4 separate regions of the Homo sapiens genome follow, and all the other regions are linked to region 1. The links are contacts of gene promoters, found by promoter capture Hi-C in blood cells and fetal thymus (Javierre and others, 2016). All regions are on one chromosome and are shown on one strand. The core of a region is centred on a gene start or on the middle of the fragment in contact, and the rest is flanking DNA. Distances in the headings are between cores, read along the strand shown. Region 1 holds the start of BANF2 (BANF family member 2). Region 2 overlaps MGME1 (mitochondrial genome maintenance exonuclease 1). Region 3 overlaps OVOL2 (ovo like zinc finger 2). Region 4 has its middle 31 kb from the start of MGME1.

Evidence for each region. Contacts are between HindIII fragments. The CHiCAGO score rates a contact against its expected background, and 5 or more counts as called.
Region 2: a fragment that was not itself captured here is called in contact with the fragment with the promoter of BANF2 in region 1 in 6 of 17 cell types (neutrophils, monocytes, naive CD4 T cells and 3 more); the score reaches 10.8 in neutrophils.
Region 3: a fragment that was not itself captured here is called in contact with the fragment with the promoter of BANF2 in region 1 in 4 of 17 cell types (naive B cells, neutrophils, total B cells and 1 more); the score reaches 10.4 in naive B cells.
Region 4: a fragment that was not itself captured here is called in contact with the fragment with the promoter of BANF2 in region 1 in 15 of 17 cell types (neutrophils, total CD4 T cells, naive CD8 T cells and 12 more); the score reaches 12.5 in neutrophils.

What each region holds. Positions count from the first base shown.
Region 1 is chr20:17,696,853-17,701,592 of GRCh38, reverse strand. It overlaps BANF2 (BANF family member 2), which reads right to left and starts at 1,627. Exons shown (of 4, transcript NM_178477.5): 1 at 1,538-1,627. LOC105372547 (a long non-coding RNA gene) reads left to right here and starts at 1,734. Exons shown (of 2, transcript XR_937294.2): 1 at 1,734-2,094; 2 at 3,413-3,977. The HindIII fragment of the contact is 11,340 bases long and covers 1-4,740 here.
Region 2 is chr20:17,978,303-17,983,045 of GRCh38, reverse strand. All of the region lies in intron 3 of MGME1 (mitochondrial genome maintenance exonuclease 1), which reads right to left. Among named protein-coding and RNA genes, the nearest start is that of MGME1, 12 kb to the right of the region's middle. The HindIII fragment of the contact is 5,928 bases long and covers 1-4,743 here.
Region 3 is chr20:18,028,734-18,033,132 of GRCh38, reverse strand. All of the region lies in intron 3 of OVOL2 (ovo like zinc finger 2), which reads left to right. Among named protein-coding and RNA genes, the nearest start is that of OVOL2, 27 kb to the left of the region's middle. The HindIII fragment of the contact is 2,472 bases long and covers 1,263-3,734 here.
Region 4 is chr20:17,997,297-18,001,749 of GRCh38, reverse strand. No RefSeq gene overlaps it. Among named protein-coding and RNA genes, the nearest start is that of MGME1, 31 kb to the right of the region's middle. RefSeq lists an enhancer at 1,324-1,825. The HindIII fragment of the contact is 3,176 bases long and covers 1-3,033 here.

The DNA.
Region 1 (4,740 bases), core at 378-2,877:
GGTCCAGCTCCCAGCTGATCACAAGAATCCCGTTCCCTTCCATGCTGATGGAAGAGCCGTGGCCTGCACACTCTTGCTGCCTTGCAAAGCAGCCCATTCTCTTTTCAGAGAGCTCTAATGTTGGGGATAGTCGATAGAGAGTGAAGGCATGCTCCAGGTTAATGACCCTCTTTAGACGTGGCACCAGCACAGAACAGTCTTCAGTTTCTATGTCTGTAGAATGAACCTGAGAACACCTGCTTCACAGAGGTCGGAATTAAGAGCAATAACATAGCTGGTGGGTCTGGCACGGGAGGTTCAGCGTTTGCTCCCTTTCTCCTCTCCAAATTAAACCTGCTGCAGGACGGGGACCACAGGTTGCTCTAGCGCCGGCCCCTCTACTGTCTTTTTTCCTTTTCCAGTGGGGCCTAACATAGGCTAAAATGTTCTTAGCATGCTTGGTGAACCATTGGCGTCTTGGATTTGTGTGTGAAGCAGAGGTTGGCTTCAGCCCATCACATATAAAACTAAGGAGGGATGGCAAAGCCTAAGGGTAAAATATTTCTCTGATCCACCCCCCACCACCTCCCTTTCTACCTTACACAGTCAAGGAGAGCCAGGAGCCTTCTTAAAATCATGGGGTCCCTATAGAAGCCACTCCTTTGTGGGAGAAGGGACGCAGCTGCAGCTGTGTGGACGTGTTGGCACTCACAGATGGTGAATGGACCGTAGACAGACTGTGGGAAAACACGAATGGGCCATGGTAGGGAAGGCAGCTGTGCCTCCTGGGGCCCAGAACGGGTCCCTACTGTTTGTTATAGAAGGCCTTGAGTCTCAAACCACCCTCAGCCGAGTGCAGGTGGCCCATATGGAAAGAGCCAGCATCCTCTTTGAGAGATGGCTTTGGCCTCTGTCCCTGTCCCCGCTACCTTAGATTTTGCCCACTTTCCTGGTGTTCTAATCCATCTCCTTATTTCCCGTCACGATCCTAAAGCTCTCTTACTGTCCCAAAAGGAAAGGAAGTGATTTGATATACCAGCAGGTCACCAGGAGGTGGATTTAAAAACAGCCAAAGCAGGAAGGCCTCTTACAGAAAGGAAGGACCGTCGTTCACATTTTGGACGGGAGGTGGCTGTGTCAGCTACCTCTGCTCATCCTGCTATGTGGTGTGTCATTTGGCCAATGGCTGTCCCTGACCTCAATTAGGGCTAGAAGTGATGCTCTAGTGAATTTGCCATCTGAAAGCCTGGCCTCTCTGCTCTATTAAGAACACAGGTGACCTTTGCCCAGGGAGCTGGTGCAGGTGGCAAGCCGAGTCTTAGGGGAGACTAGAGTACCACCTCCCGCAGATGGTGACACAGCAGGAAGAGGCTGGGAAGGGGTGTGTGCATCAGGTGAGTCAGCTTTCCTAGGAAGAGTTTGGGGCTTACCTGGTGAACTCCTGTCCACCGGTTTGGCTCATCTAAACCTGTGTGAGAATGAGACCTTAAAGTGCTAAGACAGCCAGCTGTTGGCTGTATCTCCTTCCATGCTGCTTGGGAAAGTTCTGAATACTCACCAGGTGCTCCTGATAAGCCAGTGGCAGCTGGCAGTTTGTCTCAGTCACCTTGGATCTGGAACTGCAGGCCAGAGGTTCAGCTTATGTCTTAGGCCCATGGGGCAAATCAGTCTCAAGATCCTGAATGGACTACATTGTGATGTCACACCACAGGTCGGGGGTGAGCACAAAAAGGGCTGCAGTGGCTGCTGGCATCAGGGCACAGGGCAGGGCAGGAGCAAGAGCCTCAGGCCTCTCCAGAAGAAATCAGCCTGTCTGGGTGCTGTTCTCAGCTGGGGTTGCTGGGAAAGAGTGAGGGATGTCTGCTGTACAGAAAACATCAGCCTGGAAGACTGCTTATGAATCCACCTGCTGCCACTTGCTGCCACGGTTCCTATTCTCACCTGGCCTGCGTCAATTCAGTTAAACCAAGTCCATCCTTCATGCAGTTTTCCTGCACAAAGTGACTTCCGTGGGTACCCCCAGCTCCTTGCACATCTTCTGTGATGGACTTGAAATTCCAGGGCAGCTTTTTCTTCTACCAGTATACCCGTGACTTTCCCCCTACTGCCCACCTGGTAGGGACTCAAGGAAAGAGAAGTAACTTAAATATTAGCTCAGGAAAACAAGCAGAAATATAAATCCTCCCACCTTCAAGTTAAATTCAACACAGGTGTCTTTTAGGTTATCCTCTATAGCATATATGCCTGGGCTACTTTCCATTGTTGGTAATTGATAACTTGGTACAATGTATATTTACTAAGCCTAAAAAGAAAAGAAAAACTCAAAAAAGGGGGCAAAGTATAAAATGTTTCCAGAGATTCCATTCCCTTTTGCTGCTGGTGCTTGGGATTGGGGATGGAGGAGTTCTAACCAAGAGCAAACGGCTTCGCTTTGGAAACTGTTGGGTGGCCCTAAATTTTAGAGTCCAAAACAGTGGGTCTTAAACTGTAGGTTGCATTAGAATGACCTGGAAGACTCGTTAAAATACAGATTCCTGGGCCCCACTCTCAAAGTTTCTGACTCATTAGGTCTGGGGGAGAACCCAATAATTCACATTTCTTACACGTTCCCACATGACGTTGAGGCTGCTTGCTCTGAGACTACACACTTTAAGAACATGTAAGGGTGCTGGTATCTTAGGTTTGATCCTGAAATAGTATTGCCAGCTGATGGCAGTATTCAGGGGTTGCTGGAGAATAAACAGGAGCTGTAGCTTTGGGGCCAAAGCTGGCTGAGCTCTCTGGGTTCAACCAGCACGCTTTACTGAGGATCTATTCATTGCCAGAACTGAGCCACGTTTTGGGGAAGCACAACTGACGTTGTCAGTGCCCTGCCCATAGCCTCTTGGCCTTACAACTTCATTGTACAAAGGTAATCTGACTCCCAGCTGCCAGTACCTGCGTATCTTTGCTTGGGGGCTTTTGCCAGCTGCTGGAGTCCACCCTGCCTACAAGCGGGCAGCTGCAAGTTGCAGAATGTCCTCATTCAATGACTATTATCAGTTGGTAGATAAATAACCCAGCTCCCTCCCTGCTCAGGTGGAATAACCTGGAGTCATGTCCTGTTCCATGTCCCAGAGGACCCACAGGACCCACCCGTAGGTGCCTATGCTAGGCCATTCTCTTCCTATAAAGAAATATCTGAGGCTGGGTAATTTCCACAGAAAAGAGGTTTAATTGGCTCACAGTTCTGCAGGCTGTTCAGGAAGCACGGTGCCAGCACCTGCTTTGCTTCCAGTGAGGCCTTAAGGAGCTGACAATTATGTCTGAAGGTAAACAGGGAGCCAGTGTATCACATGGCAAGAGTGGGAACAAGGCAAGGGAGGTACCACACACCTTTTTTTTTTATTATTATTTTTTATTTTTGAGATGGAGTCTCACTCTTGTTGCCCAGGTTGGAATGCGATGGCGTGATCTCGGCTCACTGCAACCTCCGCCTCCCGGGTTCAAGCAATTCTCCTGCCTCAACCTCCAAAGTAACTGGGATTTACAGGCACCCACCACCACTCCCAGCTAATTTTTTTGTATTTTTAGTAGAGATGGGGTTTCACTTTTTTGGCCAGGCTGGTCTCAAACTCCTGACCTCAGATGATCCGCCCATCCTGGCCTCCCAAAGTGCTGGGATTATAGGCATGACCCACCGTACCCGGCCGGGTACCACACACTTTTAAACAGCCAGCTCTCACAAGAACTCACTATCATGAGTACAGCACCAAGACATTCATGAGGGATCTGCCCCCAGGACACAAACACCGCCCACCAGGCCCCACTTCCAACATTGCAATCACTTTTCAACGTGAGATTTGGAGGGGACGAATATTCAAACCATATCAGTGCCCACAGTGGCAACTGGCTTGCTAACATACCCCACATTGTTGCCCCCATCCCCTGCCTCACTTCCCCGCTCCCCTACCTATGTTTCCTGGGATCAAACTGCAAATAAACTGCTTCCACTCAAATCCTTGTTTCAGGGTCTGCTTCAGGGGGAACCCAAACTAAGACTTTGTAAATAAGAAATGATGTCTGTTCTTTGTAAGTTCACATTTAGATGGAGAAACTATATAAATTGGCTTGGTATAATTCAGAATGTCTGGGAACCGGTGAGTGTCAGGTCTCAGGGCAGATGGAGGTGTTCTGCTGGTTGGCCTTTGGAGTATCATTAGGAATGTCTTGAGGAAACACATGAGCTGATATGCTCAGGGGGAGGCCTGGCAACCTGGCCCAAAGGCCTTTTCCTCTGCACAGGGAGGCCTGAATGTGCTACCCCCAGGGGACTGATTTGCTACACAAATTCCACCTGCTTTCCATCTCCCTGGACAATTCCTCCTGGAATAAGAATATGGAGGTGGAGCTAGCACCATATAAAATATGGCTCTTGTTCATGCTTTTGGGGGAGTTTCAGGTGTTTAGAGAAGGCTCGCTAGGGATATCTGCTGGCCTGTTAGGATTAATATGCTTTCCTAGGTGTTCTGCTCAATACCATGCTACACCCAGCCTCACACCTGCACTGTGGTAGGATTAATCCAACTCTGCCATAGCTTTTGCAGGGAGCCTTAGTTTCCACCCTAACTCCTTCCACATTCTCCTCCCCATTATCATCATCATCACCATCATCATCATCACCATCAGATCTCTTAGAGATCCTGCTAACACACTACAATCCAAATGAAAACACCATGTCGAGAAAGTACTCTTCAAGTCCAGTTCCCATTCTTCCAATCA
Region 2 (4,743 bases), core at 832-3,331, 280 kb before region 1:
GATGCTGATCCCAGGGTAAGAGGTTTCAGTTAGGTCAGAAGAATAAATTTTAGTGATCTGTTGCACAGCATGGTGACCATATTTAATAATGCATTGTATATTTAAAAGTTGCTAAAAGAGTAGATTTTAAAGATTCTCACCACCAAAAAATGATAAATAGGTGAAGTGATGGATATGATAATTAGCTTATTTAATCTTTCCATTAGGTATACATATATCAAAATATCATACTGTAGCCTATAAATATATATAATTATTGTCAGTCAAAAACATTTTTTAACATCATAGTAGCGTAAACCCAAATTAAAAGTACAGTAACAGTTCACAAATAGCTCTTAAATGAAAAGATGCTCAGTCTCACTTATGTGACATGCAAATTAAAAATACAATGTTATCAAAATTACTAACACTGTATTGTTAAATGTATTCACTCATATTCTTGGTAATTTAAAATGCATACCCTTGACCCAGCAACCTTCCTAAAGTATAGGATAGCAATGGCTTGATATCCTGAGTACAAGTGAAGTGACAAGTGCCTGGGAGATTTAAGAAGCAGTCATGTCCGGGTCTACTTCAGACCAACTAAATGGATTGTAACTGCATATATCACACGTCTAAAACAAACAGGCCAGGCATGGTGGCTCATGTCTGTAATCCCAGCACTTTGGGAGGCTGAGGTGGGTGGATCACCTGAGGTCAGGAGTTCGAGACCAACCTGGCCAACATGGTGAAACCCTGTCTCCACTAAAAACAAAAAATTAGCTGAGCATGGTGGCACATGCCTGTAATCTCAGCCACTTGGGAGTACAAGACAGGAGAATCGCTTGAACCCAGGAGGTGGAAGTTGCGGTGCCGCACCATTTCACTCCAGCCTGGGCAACAAGGGTGAAACTCCGTCTCAAGAAAAAAAATAAATAAACAAATGAATCTGTGCATCTGCCTAGAACAGCTCTGTAATATACAAAGAGGCACATTTGCTGCAGCACTGTTTGTAATTGTGGAAAACTAGAAATAATCTGAGTGTTCCCAATAGGGAAATGGGTAAGGCTCATTCATACAAAAGAATACAAAAAACGAGTTAAGAGAGAAGTAGGGCCAGGTGCAGTGGCTCAAGTCTGTAATCCCAGCACTTTGGGAGGCTGAGATGGGTGGATCACCTTAGGTCAGGAGTTCGAAACAAGCCTGGCCAACATGGCAAAACCCTGTCTCTATTAAAAATACAAAAAAAATTAGCCAGGCACCTGTAATCCCAGCTACTCAGGAGGGCGAGGCAGAATTGCTGGAACCTGGGAGGCGGAGGTTATAGTGAGTCCAGATTGTGCCACTGCACTCCAGCCTGGGCAATAGAGCGAGACTCTGACACACACACACACACACACACACACACACACACACACGAGTAGTAGATTGGGCAAGGTGGCTCACGCCTGTAATCCCAGCACTTTGGGAGGCTGAGGTGAGGATCATACTTCCTTCCCAGTTCTAGATTAGTCTGGGCAACACAGCAAGAATTATTTCTATAAAAAAGTAAAAAAAGAAGTAGATCAAAATAATAATGTAACATCTACTGAATACATAGTATGCATTAAGCACTCTTCAGGGAATATCTCATTTTATAACAAGGTAGGTACTACCATTTGTCTTATCTTAAAGATGAATAAATTGAGACAGAGAGCGACTAAGTAATTAATCTAAGGTTAAGATGAAAAGCCAAGCCAGAATCCAAACTCAAGCAGCTGGCTCCTGAGCCCAATATCTTACTAGCTTTGTGATGCTGTGTATCTAGAGATGTCTGTATATTATGACTGTCACAGTTCTGCATGAAATCATACATAAGTGCTGCCTATGCATGTGTATTATACATAGCATTATGTGTGTGCTAAGAGTATAGAGGGCACATATTCTTAGGTTCTCCTGATGCTGTGTCACAGATCATTGGTCATTAAAAAAAGAAAAGAACAAAAAAGAGCGTAGAAGGCAGACTAGAAGGAGGTAGTGCCAAACTTAAAACAGCAATCGCCTTTGGCCACGGGTGGTTCAACAGAATTTGGGGTTAATCTGTAATATTATATTTCTTTAAAAAAAAGATCTCCATGTAATCACAGGGATAAGGAAAAAAAAAGTTTTAAGCAAATGCACCAGTGTTAAGTGTTAATTGTGGGTGGTGGAAAATTATTACATGAGAAAAGAATGTTACAGATCTATATAAACTAATAAAAGATTTTTTTTTTTTTTTTGAGATGGAGTCTCACTCTGTCACCCATGCTAGAGTGCAGTGGCGTGATCTCAGCTCACTGCCAGCTCCGCCTCCCGGGTTCACGCCATTCTCCTGCCTCAGCCTCCCAAGTAGCTGGGACTACAGGCGCCTGCCACCATGCCTGGCTAACTTTTTGTATTTTTAGTAGAGATGGGGTTTCACCGTGTTAGCCAGGATGGTCTCAATCTTCTGACCTCGTGATCTGCCTGCCTTGGCCTCCCAAAGTACTGGGATTACAGGTGTGAGCCACTGCGCCCAGCCTGATTTTTTTTTAAATAATTTTTTTAAGTGGAAAAAAGCAGGGTATATCATCTTGTGTTAAAAAATGAGTGTGGGGACAAATGATTGTACATATGGTCATACAATATCTCAGGAACACAGGAGCTTTTTAAACAGAGGTTCAATACAGAGTGGGTGTGGGGAGTTACTCTTAATAGCATATTACCCATTAAAAATTCAGTGGGGTCGGGCACAGTGGCTCACACCTGTAATCCCAGCACTTTGGGAGGCCGAGGCAGGCAGATCTCCTGAGGTCAGGAGCTTGAGACCAGCCTGGCCAACATGGTGAAACCCCGTCTCTATGAAAAATACAAAAATGAGCTGGGTATGGTAGCAGGCGCCTGTAATCCCAGCTACTAGAGAGGCTGAGGCAGGAGAATCACTTGAACCCGGGAAGCAGAGGTTGTAGTGAGCCAAGATCTCGCCATTGTACTCCAGCCTGGGCGACAACAGCAAAACTCCTTCTCAAAAACAAAATCGGCCAGGCATAGGGGCTCACGTTTGTAATTCCAACACTTTGAGAGGCTGAGGTGGTGGATCACTTGAGCCCAGGAGTTCAAGACCAGCCTGAGCAAAATGGTGAGACCCCACATCTACAAAAAATAGAAAAATTAGTTGGGTGTGGTGGTGCATCCCTGTAGTTCCAGCTATTTGGGAAGCTGAGGTGGAAGGACAGCCTGAGCCTGGGGAGTTAGAGACTGCAGTGAGCCCTGAATGCATCACTGCACTCCAGCATGGGTGACAGTGAAAGACTGCCTCAAAAAAATAAACTAAAATAAAATAAAAAATTATTAGGCCCGGTGCGGTGGCTCACACCTGTAATCCCAGCACTTTGGGAGGCCGAGGCGGGCAGATCACGAGGTCAGGAGATCGAGACCATTGTGGCTAACACGGTGAAACCCTGTCTCTACTAAAAATACAAAAAAAAAAAAATTAGCCGGGCGTGGTGGCATGCGCCTGTAGTCCCAGCTGCTGGGGAGGCTGAGGTAGGAGAATGGCGTGAACCCGAGGCGGAGCGTGCAGTGAGCCGAGATCGCGCCACTGCACTCCAGCCTGGGTGACAGAGCAAGACTCCATCTCAAAAAAATAAATAAATAAAATTAAAAAAATAACAAAAATAAAAAATTCTTAGCTGGGCGCGGTGCCTCACACCTGTAAATCCCAGCACTTTGGGAGACGGAGACAGGCAGCTTGCTTGAGTTCAGGAATTCTAGATCAGCCTGAGCAACATGGCAAAACCCCATCTCTACAAAACATACAAAAAAATTAGCTGGGCGTGGTTGTTCGCATCTGTGGTCCCAACTACTCAGGAGGCTGAGGTGGGAGAATCGCTTGGGCCTGCGAGGTGGACGTTGCAGTGAGCCGAGATCATGCCACCGCACTCCAGCTTGGGCAACTGAACAAAACTGTGTCTTAAAAAAAAAAAATTCTAGGCTGGGTGCAGTGGCTCACACTTACAATCCCAGCACTTTGGGAGGCTGAGGCGGGCAGATCACTCAAGGCCCGGAGCTCGAGACCAGCCTGGGCAACATGTCCAAACCCCATCTCTACTAAAAACACAAAAAATTAGCCAGGCGTGGTGGTGGGTGCCTGTAGTCCTAGCCACTTGGGGAGGCTGACACAGGAGAATTGCTTGAACCCAGGAGGCAGAGGTTGCAGTGAACTGAGATTGGGCCACCACACTCCAGTCTGGGTGACAGAGCAAGACTCTGTCTCAAAAACAAAAACAAAAACAACAAAAAAAAACCGTAGTTTCAAAAATGTTCATATTACCAAGGTTGATGTTGACTTAAAAAGCAAAAAACAAACAACAGTGCTATGGACATATTTTATCATCTCTATGACAAGCATTGGGTGTCAGGAACTTCTTGTAGGCCTTGGGTGGAGGTGACTGTATGGCTTCCTTGGTTTATCTAAAAGGCAACCAAAGTCTATTAAATCTCTTGGTATACAGGGCTCTTCTCAGATATGACGCAGTTGTGCTATAAAACCATTAGGTGGTCTAGGCCAGGCGCGGTGGCTCACGTCTGTAATCTCAGCACTTTGGGAGGCTGAGGTGGGTGGATCACCTGAGGTCAGGAGTTCGAGACCAGCCTGGCCAACATGGCGAAACCCCATCTCTACTAATAACACAAAAATTAGCCGGGTGTGGTGGCGTGCACCTCTAATCCCAGCTACTTGGGAGGCTGAGGCAGGAGAATCGCTTG
Region 3 (4,399 bases), core at 1,249-3,748, 330 kb before region 1:
TAGATTGGGAAAAATGCAGATTGGGAGATGTTTGGAGTGGGCCAGATGGAGAAGAAAGAGTCAAGTCACCTCCACCCCTAGTGGCCTGAATGCTGTCATGCGGAATTGCCTGGTCCAGTTAACAAACCCTCGCTTCATTGTTTTATTTTTAATTTGTATTTTATCTTAATTTACTTTTTAGCTAAAAAGGTAATATGTTCATTAGGAGATAAAAGGAAAGAAAAAAATGTAAACTCCCTTCACATGCCAAGCCCCAGTTCCACCATTTAATTTTTTTCCCAAAAGTTTTTAATGTATATTGCTTTTTCACATAATATATATCTTGGAGCTAGGTGCGGTGGCTCACACCTGTAATCCCCGCACTTTGGGAGGCCGAGGCGGGCTGATCACTTGAGGTCAGGAGTTTGAGACCGGCCTGGCCAGCATGGTGAAACCCTGTCTCTACTAAAAACACAAAAATTAGCTGGGCATGGTGGCTGGCGCCTGTAATCCCAGCTACTCAGGAGGCTGAGGTAGGAGAATCGCTTGAACTCGAGAGGCAGAGGCTGCAGTGAGCTGAGATGGTGCCACTGCACCCCAGCCTGGGCAACAGAGTGAGACTCCATCTCAAAATAATAATAATAATAATAATAAAAGAAATCATGACAAAATTTCCAGTATCGAGGGACTGTACTTTTCCTATTCCTCAATTGATGACATTTGTTTCCATTTGCAGATTTCCTTCCTTCCTTCCTCCCTTCCTTCCTTCCTTCCTCCTTCCCTTCCTTCTTTTTTCTTTTCTTTTCTTTCCTTTCTTTCTTTCTCTCTTTCTTTCTCTCTCTCTCTCCTTCCTTCCTTCCTTTCCTTTCCTTTCTTTCTTTCTCTTTCTTTCCCTCTCTTCTTTCCTTCCCTTCTTCCTCGCTTCCTTCCTTTCTTCTTTCCTTCCTTCTTTCCTTTCTTTCATTTCAGGCAATCCTACCATGAGTATATCTTGTATATCCTTCGCCTCCCTGTGTGAGTCTTCCTGTAGGATAATTTCCCTGATGTGAAATTGCTGGGCCAAAGGGTAGATACAGTGTGATTTTTTTTTATGGCCATTGCCAAATTGCCTTCCGGGGAGGCTGCCGTAAATGTCCACTCCCACAAGCATGCCTGTAAAAATCTTCTCGCTGAAGTTCACCTTCGGATAAAGTTCAGTAAAGGAGCAGTTGAGCTATAGCAAGGAAAGCAACTAGAAAGTTCCAAAGTGTAGAATTTTCCTTGAGGATGTATGGCACGAAGCTTGATTTGCTATTAGGGGTAAAAAAATGGAAAACAACAAACCCTTTTTGATAACCCAATAAACAATATTTTTCGGACTAGGTAGGACAGGCTGATGGTACAAAATTCAAAAGGGCAGACGGCGAAAGCAGTCCCCCCTCTCCTCCACCAGCCACATTTTAAAAAATTATCCTTTCCTTTTGTTGTGAAATAAGTAACACGTACAAAAGTATACATATAGGTACAGTTTAAAGACAAATCTGCGAAATACTCATGTACCCAGCAGCCAGCTTATGTTTTTGTTTTGTTTTTTTTCTGAGATAGAGTCTCGCTCCGTTACCCAGGTTGGAGTGCAGTGGCGCCATCTCAGCTCACTGCAACCTCTGCCTCCCAGATTCCAGCGATTCTCCTGCCCTGGCCTCCCGAGTAGCTGGGATTACAGGCACTCGCCACCATGCCCGGCTAAATTTTTTTTGTATTTTTTAGTAGAGGTGGGGTTTCACCATATTGGCCAGGCTGGTCAGCAGCCAGCTTACGAATGAGGCTTATCTGCATTATGTTGAGCTGTATCCCATTGAGAACTTAGTCTATCTCGGCTAATCCTCACAGCAGCCATGCAAGAGCTATGACACCCCTGTGACAGGTGAGGAAACGGCCTTTCGGGCTGGAGCAGCCGCCCCCGTTTCAGTTAATAAGCAGCAGATCCGCAGCCTGGCTCTTCGGTGGCCTTGGACTCACAGTCGTGTGGGTGTCAGTAGGTTAATGACGTCTAGCGCATGGGTGGTGCTCTTCAGTTCCCATGTCCTGCTTTAGACACAGGCACGGTTGGCCTTTGCGTGAGAGCACCAAGATGGGTGAGCCTCAGTGGTGGGAGGGGCCTTGGCATCAGTCCGTCTTGCCCAGGGCTCCTCTCTGGCCACCCACGTCCCCCTGAATGTGTGGGTGATGGGGGTGCTCTGGGAGGGAGGTGCTTGTTCCCAAGCCTAGAAAGGGTCACCAAGGGGCTGCCGCATGGCAGTGCCCGCACCAGTGAATGAGGGGTGAATGGTGGCGTTTACACTAGCAAATGGGGAAGCAGAAGTGCTGGGGCACAGAGCAGTGCATTTGGCAAAAGTCAGAAGTGCCATAACTGGAGCTTTCTGGGCCTATGTCTCCTTTCCATCTCTGTCTGCGAGTCACTCCTCTTCCAAGCCAGGCTCTAATTCTACCCACTCCCTGGAAAAAAAGCCCCCACTGCCATCATCTCTCTTGTTTGCATGATGCAGGGCTTTGGAATCTTCTAGCGTTTGCTATCCAGGCCTTGCTGGGTACTCTGCTCATAGAAGATGCTCAGAGGCTGTGTTGACTGAAGAGAGGAAGGAGATGTGGCCCTGTGCACATGGGGCTGAGTGGTGGCCTGGCTGGCCTCTCCTCGGGGGCAGATCACCTTTGAGGATGGGAACCTCCAGGAGTTTGTTGCATCCAGGTTAAAGCCTGATGTTAAGTGTGCCAGCTTCCCCATATTTTTAGTTTGGATGTTTTAAAACAGTAGTCGGTTATTTCTACTAACTAGTGAAAGGAGCAACTAATCTCTGGGTGGATTTCTGCTCTGATGAGCTGAAGGTTGGAAATCGGGTTTGCCGCTTGATCTACTGGGTAGTGGGAGCCAGCTGCTCGCTGCTGCATGGGCCCAGAAGGCCGGGAAAACACAAAGTCTGCATTACAGTGCAAACATGAAAGCTAGAGCGGGCGCATTCCTTAGGAGAGGAGTCTGTAGTCCTTGCCTATGTGGAAAACTAGTCCCAAAGATGTGGCCTTTCTTTCCTGGAACCAACAGAGTTCATCCATTCATTCGATATTTTGATTTTTAAAATATTGCCTTAAAACTTTCTTAACCTTGATTGGTGAGGGTTGGTTTGTTTGTTTTCTGTTTTTCTGAGACAGGGTCTCACTCTCGCCCAGGCTGGAGTGCAGTGGTGCGATCATGGCTCACTGTAGCCTTGAATTCCTGGGTTCCAGTGATCTCTCCCACCTTAGCCTCCTGAGTAGCTGGGACCACAGGGGCATGCCACCATGCCCAGCTAATTTTTTACTTTTTTGTAAAGACAGGGATCTCCCCATGTTCGCCAGGCTAGTCTCGAACTCCTGGACTCAAGAGATCCTCCTGCCTTGGCCTCCCAAAGTGCTGGGATTACAGGTGTGAGCCATGCACCCATCCTAGAATAGTTTTAAGAGAAAAGGTGGGAGATTCATTGTCATTACACTGCCCAGAAGGAACCACAGTTAGTACGAAAATTATTATTATTAATACTGGCAGGTGGTTGGAGATGGGAAGTAGTACAGACAGGGACGCAATGGCAAGTGTAAGCCTTCACCACCCTCCAGACCGTCTCTCCAGAACCCCAGGTTTATGTTTCGGAAACATGTACATCCGTGCATATGCCAATGTGAATGTGCATTTATTTAGAACTCTCGTTTTCATACTTGGCTGCACACTAGAGCCTCCTGGGGAAGCTTTAACAAATTCTCCTGCTCAGGCAACACCCAGAGATGACATATATTTATTAATCTTAAAATACATATGTAGGCCGGGCGTGGTGGCTCATGCCTGTAATCCCAGCACTTTGGGAGGCCGAGGCAGGTGGATCTCCTGAGGTCAGGAGTTCAAGATCAGCCTGGTCAACATGGTGAAACCCGGTCTCTACTAAAAAAATACAAAAGTTAGCTGGACATTGTAGCAGGCACCTGTGGTCCCAGCTACTAGGGAGGCTGAGGCAGGATACTCGCTTGAACCCAGGAGGCAGAGGTTGCAGTGAGCCGACATTGTGCCACTGCACTGCAGCCTGGGAGACAGAGTGAGACTCCTTCTCAAAAAATAAAATAAAATAAAAATGTACATATATATAATTTGTAGAAAATGTGAAGGATCACAAGAAACTTGCGAGTTAGGACTAGGGAAGGAGAGGTGCATGGGGTGACAAAGGGATCTTTTCTGTTTTATTTTTTTTAATTTACTGCTGTTTTTCACCATAAAACTGGGGGGTATATTACTTTTAAATTTAAACAACTATTAATAGTAACCTTTTGTTATTTATTTTGTTTATTTATTTATGTATTTATTTGAGACAGGGTCTCGCTCTATTGCCCAGGCTGGAGTGCGGTGGCACTATCTCAGCTCACT
Region 4 (4,453 bases), core at 196-2,695, 300 kb before region 1:
GTCTTGCCTTGGCCACATGACCTGCTTTGGCAAACGAGACATTAGTCAGCACGGCCCAAGCCGAGGCTTGTGAAATGCTGTGTGCTGGGGCTTGTTCTGCTGCTGTCCGGAATCCTTCTGCTACTGCTGCGTGAATGAGAGCCCAGGTTAGCCCTCTGGAGGATGAGAGTCACCAGGCCCAGGCATCTCCATGGCCCCAGCTGACACCAGGCCAACCCTCAGACATCTAAGTGATGACATCCTAAATCATCTAGCCCTACTTGAGCCAGCACAGACCAGAAATGCTCAGCTTGACCTCAGAATCATGAGAAATAAGTCGTAAACCACTGAATTTGGGGGTGATTTTTATTTACTTGTTTTTGAGACAAGGTCTCACTCTGTCACCCAGACTGGAGTGCTGTGGCACAAACATGACTCACTGCAACCTCTATCTCCCAGGCTCAAGCGATCCTCCCAACTCAGCCTCCCAAGTAGCTGGGACCACAGGCATGTGCCACCACAACCAGCTAGTTTGTTTTATTTTGTTTTTTTCCGTTTTTTCTAGAAGCGAGTCTCACCATGTTGCCCAGGCTGGGTGATTTATTGCACAGCAAAGCTAACTGATAGTGTTAGTGAGGAGAAAAGATGGGGCTGGACCTGGATTTTCTCCCTCCAGCCTTTCCCATGTCAGCAAATAACACACATGCCCTAAACCTACAACTTACCTTCCATTTATACTTCTTCATCACTCATCTCATTCAAACCCTCAGGCAAGGCTCCCAAAATACATCTCGAATCTTCCTTCCCAGCACCTCCTCTGCCATTTCTCTAGGCCAGCCTACCTCTTCTATCATCTAGACTGAGAGTCGGCAGACTTACTCTATAGAAGTCCAGATAGTAAATACTTGAGGCTTTGCAGGCCATACAGCCTCTGTTACCGACTTAACCTGCAGCTACAGAAGGAAAGCAGCCAGAGTCAAAAGCAAATGGGTGATGCTGTGTTCCAGGAAACCTTGACTTACAGACACTGGAATTCGAATCTTTACAATTTTATAAAAATTATATATGCCATAAAAAGACTCTACTTTTGATTTTTTTTCCAAACATTTAAAAATGTAAAAACAACTCTATGCTCACAGACCGTATAAAGACTGTATCAGGCAGCAAGCCGGATTTGGTGGATGAGCCAGTGTGCTGACTCCTATTATAATAGCTCTGTCTATAATAGTCCAGCCAGGCTGTGCTTCAGCACTTGCCTCCTGCATTCTGCTCTCCAAACAATGCTGATCTGCTTCTGCTGCTGCTGCTGCCGCCGCCGCCTCCTCCTCCTCCTCTTCTTCTTCTTTTTCTTCTTCTTCGTCTTTTAAATAATTTTAATTAAATTAGGCCAGGTACGGTGGCTCATGCCTGTAATCCCAGCACTTTGGGAGGCCGAGGCAGGTGGATCGTTTGAGGTCAGGAGTTCGAGACCAGCCTGGTGAAACCCCATCTCTACTAAAAATACAAAAATTAGCCAGGCATGGTGGCGTTGGCATGCACCTGTAATCCCAGCTACTCGGGAGGCTGAGGCAGGAGAATCACTCGAACCTGGGAGGCAGATGTTGCGGTGAGTCGAAGTGGCGCCATTGCATTCCAGCCTAGGCGACAAGAGCAAAACTCCATCTCAAAATAAATAAAATAAAATAGATAAGATAAAATAAAAAAAAATAGAGGTGGAGGTCTCACTATGTTGCCCAGGCTGGTTTCGAACTCCTGGGCTCAAGTGATCTCCTGCCTTGGCCTCCCAAAGTGCTGGGATTACCGGTGAGAGCCACTGCACTTGGCCCCGCTCTTCTTAAAAGGCAATGGAATGGCTTTATTCCCCTGCTTATCCCTGTCTTTCCATCTTAGAGTAAAATCTAAACTCCTTACCATGGCATATTGAGTTTGACATCATCTGGCTCCCCCGCCCACTTCTGCAGCCTGCAATTCCTTTCCTTTCCCCACTGCCTTCTGGCCACCCCTGTGTTCTTATAGCTCCTGTAACATGCTGTTCTTTCCTACCCTGGGGCCTTTGAACATGCTGATCCTTCTGCTGGAATATTCTTCCTGTGGCTCTCTGCAGTGCTGGCCACGTTTCCTCCTTTCCTCCTTCAAGTATCATGTTATGTGTCGCCCCTCAGAGGAGCCCTCTCTGACCACACAATCCAAAGTTGCAATTCTCCTCCTGGCTCAGTGATCCTCTGTTTCTTCATGGCACTGTCAATCTGTAATTTTCATACTAACTTTCTCACTTATTAATTGTTTGCCCTTTCTCTAGACTGTCAGCTCCATGCATTTTGCAAAAAACTAGCACAAGGCAGACATGAATATTCAATAAGACATTTGTCGGGTAAAGGAATGAATTACCACCTATGATGGTCAATCTTAGGTGTCAGCGTAACTGGATTAATGACACCCAGACAGCTGGCGAAGCATTATTTTGAGGTGTCTGTGAGGTGTTTCTGGAAGAAACTGGCATTTGAATCAGTGGACTGAGTAAGGAAGATCCATCCTCACTCAATGTCAGGGGGCACCGTCCATCAGCTGAGGGCCAGGATAACAAAAAGGCAAAGGAAAGGAGGATTTGCTCTGTTTTCTGGAGCTGGAACACCCTTCTTCTCCTGCCCTTGGACATCAGAACTCCAGCTTCTCCAGCTTTTGGACTCTGGGACACCAGTGGCCTCCTGGATTCTCAGGCTTTCGGCCTGAGACTGAGTGCTATCAGGTTCTCTGGTTCTGAGGCTTTTGAACTTGGACGGAGCCATGCTACCAGCTTCCCTGGTTTTCCAGCCTGCAGACAGCAGACCGTAGGACTTCTCAGCCCCCATAATTGTGTGAGCCCATTCCCCTAATAAATCCCCTGTCATATACCTATATCTACAAGCCCTATTGGTTTTAGCTCTCTGATTTATACACCGTCTAACTACAATCCCATGACTTTCTTCAGCATCGCATCCTTATCTGTACTGCCTCATTAATCCTATTTTGCAAGTCTTGTTTCACTGCGAGACTCCCCTAGTTCTACACAAAGCTTTCATTTCTTTTTTTTTTCTTCATATACTCAAAACTTTCAAATCACTGAGCTCACAAGTCAACCCACAGCCTCTTATCAAAGGGGTGACCAGCACTAACCAAATTTCTCTGGTGAGCCATTCTGATACCCAGCTCTTTTTCTGCTGCTCTAGGAAATGGCAGTTTCCTCTGTTGTTTGTCTCTTTACTCATCTCTCTCTTAAAACACTATTCTGGGCCAGACATGGTGGCTCACGCCTATAATCGCAGCACTTTGGGAGGCCAAGGTGGATGGATCACCTGAGGTCAGGAGTTCGAGACCAGCCAGCCAACATGAAAAAACCCCGTCTCTACTAAAAATACAAAAAATTAGCCAGGTGCGGTGGTAATGACCTGTAATCCCAGCTACTCGGGAGGCTGAGGCAAGAGAATCGCTTGAATCCAGGAGGCAGAGGTTGTAGTGAGCCAAGATTGTGCCACTGCACTCCAGCCTTGGCGACAGAATGAGACCCTGTCTCAAAAAAATAAATAAATAAAAAGATGTTTTGGGTTCAGATTTGAGAGTTTTTTTCTTTTTGTTTTTCATTTTACTTAAGAAATAGATATAAAATAAGTAGTTTTTTTTGTCTTTTTGTTTGTTTGTTTGTTTTTGTTTTGAGACGGAGTCTCGTTCTGCCGCCCTGGCTGGAATGCAGTGGTGCAATCTCTGCTCCCTGCAACCTCCCCCTCCAGGGTTCAAGCGATTCTCCTGCCTCAGCCTCCTGAGTAGCTGGGACTACAGGATGTGCCACCACTCCCGGCTAATTTTTTGTATTTTTAGTAGAGACGGGGTTTCACTGTGTTTGTTACATGTACATCTGAAATAGTGAAGTAACAGAAAAAGGTAGAATATGAACAAGAATCAAAGTGGGTGGTAAAAACAAAGGCACCACAAGAGTTCAGTGAAGGGTAGAGTCGGTTCCACGGAGGAAGTAGTTGATCTTTGCCCAGTGCCTATTCCACGTTCAGCATTTGTCACACATTTCCTATGTTAATCTTTCCAGGAACACTGAGGTTAATACTCTTCCCCAAATTACTAGTGAGGAAAAAGGCATGGAGAGCTGAAGTGACTTAGCATTGCACAGCAGGATTTGAACCCACCTCTGCCCAATTCTGAGGCTCCTGCTTCCTGCCCTATACCATTTTGTTTCCTGTGGAGCAGGTAAGACTTGAGCAGATCATCAGTGGGATTGCGGTTCAGGCCCAAGCTCTCAGGCAAGATATGGCTGAACAAAGGGAGGAAGGGAAGTTATTTTATGCAAAGGTGTCAGCACAAACAACAGCTTAGAAATGAGTGAGACTGGTGCAGTAGGACAGTCTAGACTTGCCTAAATGAATGCTTCTAATCACAGTTGACCTTAGCTTGCTGTTCTTTAGAATTTGTTTTCTTTTTTAACTTTTTT